Regions from separate parts of the Homo sapiens genome. Here region 2 is linked to region 1. The links are contacts of gene promoters, found by promoter capture Hi-C in blood cells and fetal thymus (Javierre and others, 2016). All regions are on one chromosome and are shown on one strand. The core of a region is centred on a gene start or on the middle of the fragment in contact, and the rest is flanking DNA. Distances in the headings are between cores, read along the strand shown. Region 1 holds the start of TSLP (thymic stromal lymphopoietin). Region 2 overlaps EPB41L4A (erythrocyte membrane protein band 4.1 like 4A).

What was found. The method cuts DNA at HindIII sites, captures the fragments that hold promoters and counts their contacts. A CHiCAGO score of 5 or more calls a contact.
Region 2: a contact is called between a fragment that was not itself captured here and the fragment with the promoter of TSLP in region 1, in 5 of 17 cell types (M0 macrophages, activated CD4 T cells, fetal thymus and 2 more). The highest score is 6.7, in M0 macrophages.

Annotation. Positions count from the first base shown.
Region 1 is chr5:111,069,363-111,073,600 of GRCh38, forward strand. TSLP (thymic stromal lymphopoietin) reads left to right here and starts at 2,351. Exons shown (of 4, transcript NM_033035.5): 1 at 2,351-2,699; 2 at 3,526-3,570; 3 at 4,149-4,238. The coding sequence starts at 2,529. The HindIII fragment of the contact is 3,260 bases long and covers 1-2,710 here.
Region 2 is chr5:112,169,003-112,173,240 of GRCh38, forward strand. It overlaps EPB41L4A (erythrocyte membrane protein band 4.1 like 4A), which reads right to left. Exons shown (of 23, transcript NM_022140.5): 19 at 1,943-1,990; 20 at 1,299-1,367; 21 at 1-103. Among named protein-coding and RNA genes, the nearest start is that of SNORA13, 9.6 kb to the left of the region's middle. The HindIII fragment of the contact is 1,533 bases long and covers 1,266-2,798 here.

The sequences.
Region 1 (4,238 bases), core at 1,101-3,600:
TTACCTTCAGATACTGTTTGCTGGAAGCCTAGGAAAATGAAGGAAATAGGGCTGGAAAGACAGCTTGGAGCCAACGCAGGAGGGATAATTGTAATCTCAAAACAACCTTGAGTAGGTTGTTTTGCCATAACTTTTTGAGCAGACAAGTAATATAATCCAGGTGATCTAAGAGGTCACATAATTACAGATAAGGAAATTGGGGGCAAAAGGAACAAGTGTTTAGCAATGTTTTAACAGACAAAGAGACACCTGGGATGCCTTAGAAAGAGATACCCTGCCTACCTCATCTGAACAAAGACTCTACATAGATCATAGACACAAGGGGTTTTTAAAAGAGGAAACAAAAAAAGGGAGGCAGCCTGGTTATACCTCCAGAAGAATGCAAGTCGAAGCTCAGTGTAGGCTGCTTTCTGTTGTTCTTGCCCCCATCAGCAATCAAGAGATGAAGCCGAAGGTTCTAGTGGGCACTCACACTCTCTGGCCCTACAGCAAGCCACTAGAGGGGAAGGCATGTCAGGTGAGGGTGACAGAAGCAGCCACCATGCCCTTTCCTTTGTCTCTTGGAGCTATCCCAGCCCAGTGAAGAAATCTAAGTTTAGCTCCTGTCTGCCTATATAATAATGTCCAGCTGCCGACCAGAATAATCTCTGATGTCACAATAGATTAATCAGGTTTTGGCATCATCCCACAATACCCTGAGAAGTTGGTGATGGGGGAAGAGTGGACTTTTTTTTCAAAGAATGCTGTGGTGACTCGAGTACAACACATGAAGAATTCCAGAAAAGAGCCATTTTTGAAGTCAGCGGTGAATCAGAGGTTTTCTGACCCTCTCGAGTGCCTTCTATGAAGAAGAGTTCAACTCTGGCTCCAGTTTGTCCCCTACTCTTTTCCCGAATCCCTCGACATTCCTTGCTCTTTTCCCCAGGCACCGCATGGCCTGTGACATTTGCTGGGACTCACACACGGCGTCCAACCTCCTTTCTCCGAGCGATGACTCCTAGGAACTTCCCAAGGACCAGAGCGATGCAGGCTCCGACACGCGAGGGCGGGGGGCGGGGGTGAGGGGTGCGATGGACGGGGGAGCGGAAGGGAAAGAGAGAGAGAGGGGACCTGGGTGTAGAGAGGGCCCAGGGCCGCATGAGCCAAGCCAGGGAGGAGCAGGGGGTTCATCTCAGCAACCTGATCGGTGTCGGCCTTTCCCTCCCTTCAACCCTCCATTGGTGTTGCTGGAACTGGGAAGACTGCTAGACAGACATCCTCTAGGGCACTCTCCCTGACTCACTTTGCTGTGCTTTTAAGCGCTCTTTTCTGGATCAACAAGAGTTTGCTAGTAAAAATCTGAGCCCGCCATCTCGATGCTTCTCCTGTCTCTAAAACTGGTGCCCGGGCTGAGGCCCCAGGTGACAGACGTTTTCCAGTCTACGCTGCGCGGGGCTAAGCCTCTGCGAGGCAGAGCGCACTAAAGCGTGCGCCGCCTCCGGGAGAGCTGAGCTCAGGACAGCATCGTCTCCGTGCGGTCGCCGCTGGGCACCCAGCAGCGCGGTCTGGCTCCGCTTCTTGTGTCGCTGGCCTTAAGAGTGGGACTGTGAAGGTGGCTGGGCGCTGGAATTTGTGGTTTTAAAAGTTCTTGACACCTGCTAGAAAGTGCTAGAGGACTCTTCAGCCCCTAAGGTGCCCCTAGCCACCAAGAGTAGGCGTTTTTCCTGAAATTGATATGGGAAATTTGAAAAGTAGGGTTTTTGAGAACAAGCCACATCAGATCTTTCCCCACTTATTTCAACCTCTTATCGTTCCTGCCCCTAAGGTTCTGGTCACGGTTGCACATTTAATGCTTTCACATGGAAGTGCTGTCGAAGACTGAGACTGCACCCCACCCTCCAAAGCATCCCATAAGCAAGCACAGTTTCTTACTAGCCAAGGAGAAGGGAAAGCACTAGTTGAAAGTGGCCACAGGAAATGCTCAAAGATGTTCAGAATGCATGGGACATATGCAAGGACTCCAAATCCTTACAGTGGCTGCTGGTTTCAGAAGGTGTTTCTCCCAAATAGAAAGGATTGGTCACGGAAATGCCCTGTAGGAGAAAGACACTGGTATCCGTTTCTTAAAGGACATTCACACTTATGAAGTGTTTAGGGCAAAGCAAAAAGGAGGAAGGTGAGGGAAATTCCTGATGACTTTACTGATGTTAAAATTCCATAGATTTAGCTACTCCTTTTTTTTTTTCCTTTCACATCATCAATTCAGAATTCTATAAAGGAAGAGAATGACATGGTAGAAAATCATTGGCCTAGGAGAAAAGAGCCCGTAGGCGTTTAGGTGTTATATAGTGCAGCCAGAAAGCTCTGGAGCATCAGGGAGACTCCAACTTAAGGCAACAGCATGGGTGAATAAGGGCTTCCTGTGGACTGGCAATGAGAGGCAAAACCTGGTGCTTGAGCACTGGCCCCTAAGGCAGGCCTTACAGATCTCTTACACTCGTGGTGGGAAGAGTTTAGTGTGAAACTGGGGTGGAATTGGGTGTCCACGTATGTTCCCTTTTGCCTTACTATATGTTCTGTCAGTTTCTTTCAGGAAAATCTTCATCTTACAACTTGTAGGGCTGGTGTTAACTTACGACTTCACTAACTGTGACTTTGAGAAGATTAAAGCAGCCTATCTCAGTACTATTTCTAAAGACCTGATTACATATATGAGTGGGGTAAGTGAAGAAGCTTTTTTAAAACAAATGTATTTTCATCAGAGGAGTCGGCATACACACACTCTACAATTTAACTTTGTAGGAAAGAAAAATAATTTAGAAAAAATCATGGCCCCACATTTTGTCAAGGATTCTTACAAGTGATATTCAAATATCTAATCTAAAATGATTATCTAGAAATTGGCACATTCTAAGTGTGCAGATGCTGATGAGGAGCAGGTATTGATAGACAGCGCGTTATGCGTCAAAGGATGTCTATCCTTTGCTAAAGTGTTACTCTGACTATGCTGTAAAAAGCAGGAGGTAAGAGCTTAAGAAAGAGGAGTAAAAGAGATAATTCTCATGAGATAAACTCTAAGGATTGATGCTGTGCTCCAGGTCTCTCCAGTGTTTTAGATGTTTCAGGATGCTATTTATTACAGAATATGGTGTACTTGGAATTTTTTTTAACATACAGTAGTAATCATTTTCCTGATTAACCTAATTTCTAGACAGAGTTTGCATTCATGAATGGCCACAGTACAGATGCGGACATCCAAAGGATGGCATTATTACTCACAAGCATAGTGCTATGTGCAGTTATGGCTTGAGGGAAGGGAGGGGGGAGGTCGCCCTCTGAGACCTGAACCTTTTGGTGTGGTTTCAAGCACTAACCAGCACTATCTAATGGCTATTTCACTGCCTTGTCAATGACATAGGAAAAAGGTACCTGAGTGGAAACTGTTTTCAGGGCACCTTTAAAGCCTGGGAGCAAAGGGTGGAGGGATGATTTTCCTTGTGGACTTAAAAGTCTTTACCCTCTTTGTCCTATTTTTCTTTCTTCCAGACCAAAAGTACCGAGTTCAACAACACCGTCTCTTGTAGCAATCGGGTGAGTAGAGAGTTCAGTGCTGCTGGCTTTCTCCAGGGAGACGCCAGGCATTTTGGAGAGGGAGTATCCTGCTACGTGCAGAACTCCGAGAGGTGCCTGGGCTCCGGGACGCCGCCGCCGGGGGAAAGGGGACATCTGGGCTGTCAGAGCGGGGCTGCGCCTAGCTTGGGACAACACTTCTGTTCCAATTTAGGGAGAGGAAGTCTCTATCCGGAGGAAAGGCAAATTGGGAACTGGGACGAGGGAACGTTGTTAGGGGCACCACCTGCTGGGGTCCGGCGCCTCCGCGCTCGGGCTCGGAATTTTGGCAGCCTCCGCCCCCTGGAGACTTGGGAGGAGCGAGCGTGGGTGACAGTCTTTTCGCGACGAGTGCCCTCCGCCACCCTCGCCACGCCCCTGCTCCCCCGCGGTTGGTTCTTCCTTGCTCTACTCAACCCTGACCTCTTCTCTCTGACTCTCGACTTGTGTTCCCCGCTCCTCCCTGACCTTCCTCCCCTCCCCTTTCACTCAATTCTCACCAACTCTTTCTCTCTCTGGTGTTTTCTCCTTTTCTCGTAAACTTTGCCGCCTATGAGCAGCCACATTGCCTTACTGAAATCCAGAGCCTAACCTTCAATCCCACCGCCGGCTGCGCGTCGCTCGCCAAAGAAATGTTCGCCATGAAAACT
Region 2 (4,238 bases), core at 782-3,281, 1.1 Mb after region 1:
CGAGAGAACTGATCGCTCCCCATCTGAACACTGGGACCTGCGATACTGGCGGTAACTTCGTGGCGAATGAGAATGCCTGATGCGGATTGGGTCACCTTGTGTCCTGAACAAGCAACCAAGAAACATGAAAACAAACACCCAAAGTCAGAAAAGGAAAAGTAGGAGTTCTTAATATTGAAACCGCAAAAGAATAACAACTTTCAGAGTTTTAAAAAGAACTTGACTCCTAGGGTTTGAAAGCCTGAGTGACTTAAATTTCACAAGAAAAATGCTCCCTTGACAATATGTGAAAATGAAGCTCTTTAAAGTATTTGTGTGTATACATATATATATGTATGTATGTATATTTTTTAACAACCAAATTTTAAATGAAATTATTCCTTACCGTGGAATTCTTCTTAGTAGCGTGGAAGTAAACAAAATCTATAATGCAGACAAAATGGCATTCCTAATGGAAAAAGTTGGTCCGCTGTCCTAGCTACCAACATTAAGAATTCAGTCTTTACTTGAAAATTGCTAAGAAAGTAGATCTTAAGTGTTCTCTCCATAAAAAAAAAGTATGTGAGGTGATAGATACATTAGCTTGACTTCAGCATTTCACAATGTATACATATATCAAAACATCAGATTGTATAAACATACACAATTTTTATTTGTCAATTATACCTTAATAATTAAAAACAAATAAATAATTCAAATCTTTGACCTAAAGATGGGGACGGAGGGTGGCTGGGGTGTACCAACCTGCTATTTAACTGTGGTGGGAAAGCAGCATAGCTACAGAAGGGAAACAAAGCAGGCACTCACTTTCTCTTAACCAAGTACTGGTAAGGCAGAAAACACAGTCAACAGGTACGGTTCCTCTTACACTGGTGACTAAGGACTCCTGCTGTGCTTTCACGAAGCCTGCTCAATGTGCTGCTTCTATGCCAGGGATGGGACTGGGCTCATATGAGAGTTTTATGGTCAACATAATTCTCTTGGTGTAAAATAATGGATAAAAAACTTTATCAGTGAGAATCTCAGAAAAGAATTTATTTTAAAACTGACATTAATCAGGAAAAGCCCCCTTGTACCTACCAAGTACAAAGAGGTGGCTAATAAGAGATGATAGTGATTATAGTGTAGAATAAGTAGCTTTAATGCACACTTTTCTTCCTCTTTCGCTACTGTCACCTAGTTTTGTTTAAAATGTAAAGACAAATTAAAGCACTGTCTGGAACACAATTGAAGAATTAGAATGGATTACTCACAAGCACTAATAAAGCTTTGGTGAGAAGATTCTGAAAGGCACTCACTCTATTTTAGTGTATGGAATCTCTTTTAATTGTTCTTCGGACAATCCGGATGGATCCACAAGTTCTTTTCTGTAAAGGAATATGCAAGAAAATGATAGTTGTGGTGCTGGTATAAATGCTAGTATCTTTCACAATCGGCAGGTGAGTTTTCCCTTTCTAATCTTGTCCCAAAACAGTGTTAGTAAAACTAATGAAAATTTATAAAAACTAAACGTGTTCAAGGAAAAATAGGAGGGGTAAAACCTTTTCTGTAGCTCTTTTGCCTTCTTTCAATTCTTCTACATTCAGACTCCAGTCATTCCCCATTTCCCTATAAAAGATCTGCTTCTCTCCCCTGTGGTAGGTGTCTTTTTTCTTCTGGATTTGTTTTCCTTGGTATTTATTTGTAAACTATTGGCCTGTCTGAGGTCCATTTAGAGGCGAGACTAAATGACCCAAGGTGAGGAGGTGTCAGGGTTGCCTGTAGATAGGTGTTGATATGGTTAAGGCACCACCACCATGTGCTCCATGTGCCTGCCACACACAGTGGCAATGGCTTTGGCAGGCATCACGCTGAAGTTGCCTCTCAGTATCAGGAGTCTTCCTTGCAATTGCATTAAAACTACATGGGTTTTAAAACAATAAGAAAGAAAACTATTACTCACTGAATGTGCTTCCATAACTCTTCTTTTGCTTGGATATCGGGGCTTCTCCTATAAATAGAGAAAACAACATTCATCTCTGCAAACATGCTTCATCTCACAACCTAATAACTAACTTTAATAGTTTTCAGACTGTGAAGTTCTTATTTGCCAGCTGAGAACAGACAAGGAAAGACTGGACAGGGAGAGCCATTGTGATGGTTAGTATAAAGACACCAGCAGCTAAATTGCTGCTACTGCCGCTGAAGGAAAATCATAAAACCCAGTCATAACCAGAGCTTCATTTAATGAAAGACCTCAGAACTGCAGGGTCATATGCCTCCCCATCCAGTGGTAACTGTACAACGAAGAATGATTCAGGGCGTCTGTTTCTGATCTTTCCAGATATTTGTAAGTAATGGTAAAAGAAGAACTCATCCTGATTCTAAAAAGTTCCAACATGATCTGTGATTACCTAGGAGAAGCAACCACCAAAAGGAAAAAGCAACTGGTGGGATGGCCCTGATGGCAGACTGTACCAATGACCCATCTTTCATGTTACATCTGGTGTTGCATTTCTGCAACAAAACTTGGGCCAGCAAATGCTAGGACTATCAGTGGCCTTGGCTCATGCTGCCACCCTCTTTACGCCCTTCTCCATTCCTAACTATTGACTCTGCAAATCTTTTCTCCAAGAAGTATGTGAGCAGATATTATACCACTATCTTTAACTTCCTAGAATGAAAAATTCAGTCAGCATTCAAGTGTTTGTACTCTCTGTAGTATCAACTATTTCTCCCATTGTAGCAATGAATGCAGTGAAATCTATTATCACTGCAATTGTTGACACAGAATGATTTTTCTTCATAGTGAGAAAATAAGCTTTCATCAGTCCCTTTAAGAGAACAGAGATCTAGTAATAGGCCAAAAGAAAGAACAAATAATTAAAAGCCACTGATCCTATGGAATTGTATGTGATTAATCTGTATTAGCATTTGGGGGGCTCAATAATGCTTTTAGTGTATGATATCATTAATGCTTTCATTCTTCTCGATTCATAAGGGCACCACTACGGTATTCTGGTAGGGCTTCCTGAACCTACAGAATACACTAAGCTACTTTCCAGCCACTGAGTTGACCAAATGGTTTTTCCTTTGTGCAGGGGGAAAAAAGTGATCTGTCTATAAAGACCTTTTAATCAACTCAGGATGAGACAAAACATGAAAAGGAAAAAGGGATGAAATCTTGGTCTCAGACCAAATATGGTACTGTTAAATGTAGATGTTCTTTGTTTTAAGAATAAGATTAGGCTGGGCATAGTGGCTCAAGCCTGTAATCCCAGCACTTTGGGAGGCCAAGGTGGGTGGATCACTTGAGGTCAGGAGTTCAAAACCAGCCTGGCCAACATGGCAAAACCCCATCTCTACTAAAAATACAAAAAATTAGCTGGGCATGGTGGCATGTGCCTGTAATTCCAACTGCTTAGGAGGTTGAGGCATGAGAATCACTTGAACCTGGGAGGTGGAGGTTGCAGTAAGCCGAGATCACACCACTGCACTCCAGTCTGGGCAACAGAATGAGACCCTGTGCCAAAAAAAAAAAAAAAAAATTGTATGTTTCTTACAAATCATAGAAACTGCTTCCTTGGTGTCCTGTATGTATTCTGCCTTTCCTACATTTGGTTGGTCTGATTTGCTAGATAATATGTTAACCCCATTAAATGATACTGTCAGAGAAAGTGCTAATATTAAAAAGCACTAAGGTGTTATTCCATTCTGACAGAATGATGGTTCAGCTGTGACTATACCCCAGGATCTATTTCTTACAGTCAACCAAGAGTCTGAAGTATTACATAATATCCAGGTTAGGAAGCTATTCTACTGATCATTATTCTTATTTCAGGAAGGTATGATAGTGGGCATATCAGCTTCTTCTAGTTACAGCAGGGTTTCCCACCCTTGGCCCTACTGACATTTTCTATACTAATTCTGTGCTGCAGGAGGCTGTCCTGTGCATTGTAGCATGATCAGTAGCACCTGTGGCCTCTACCCAACTAGACGCCAGTAGCACCTCCCCAGTGTGACAGCCAAAAATGTCTGTAGACAATGTCCCCTTGGAAGCAAAACTGCCCCCAGTTGGAAAACCACTGATTAAGGGTATGACCTAGGAATTAAGTGGCTATGGTTGGGTGGTGGAAGCCAAGTTTTTGTAAAGATCCATTATGTGAGTACTAGAATAGTGCTGGAGAGAGTGACAGTACAGCAGAACCTAAATCTTAAAAGAATGGGAAAATGACCGAGGGTGCAGTTGATGACAACTA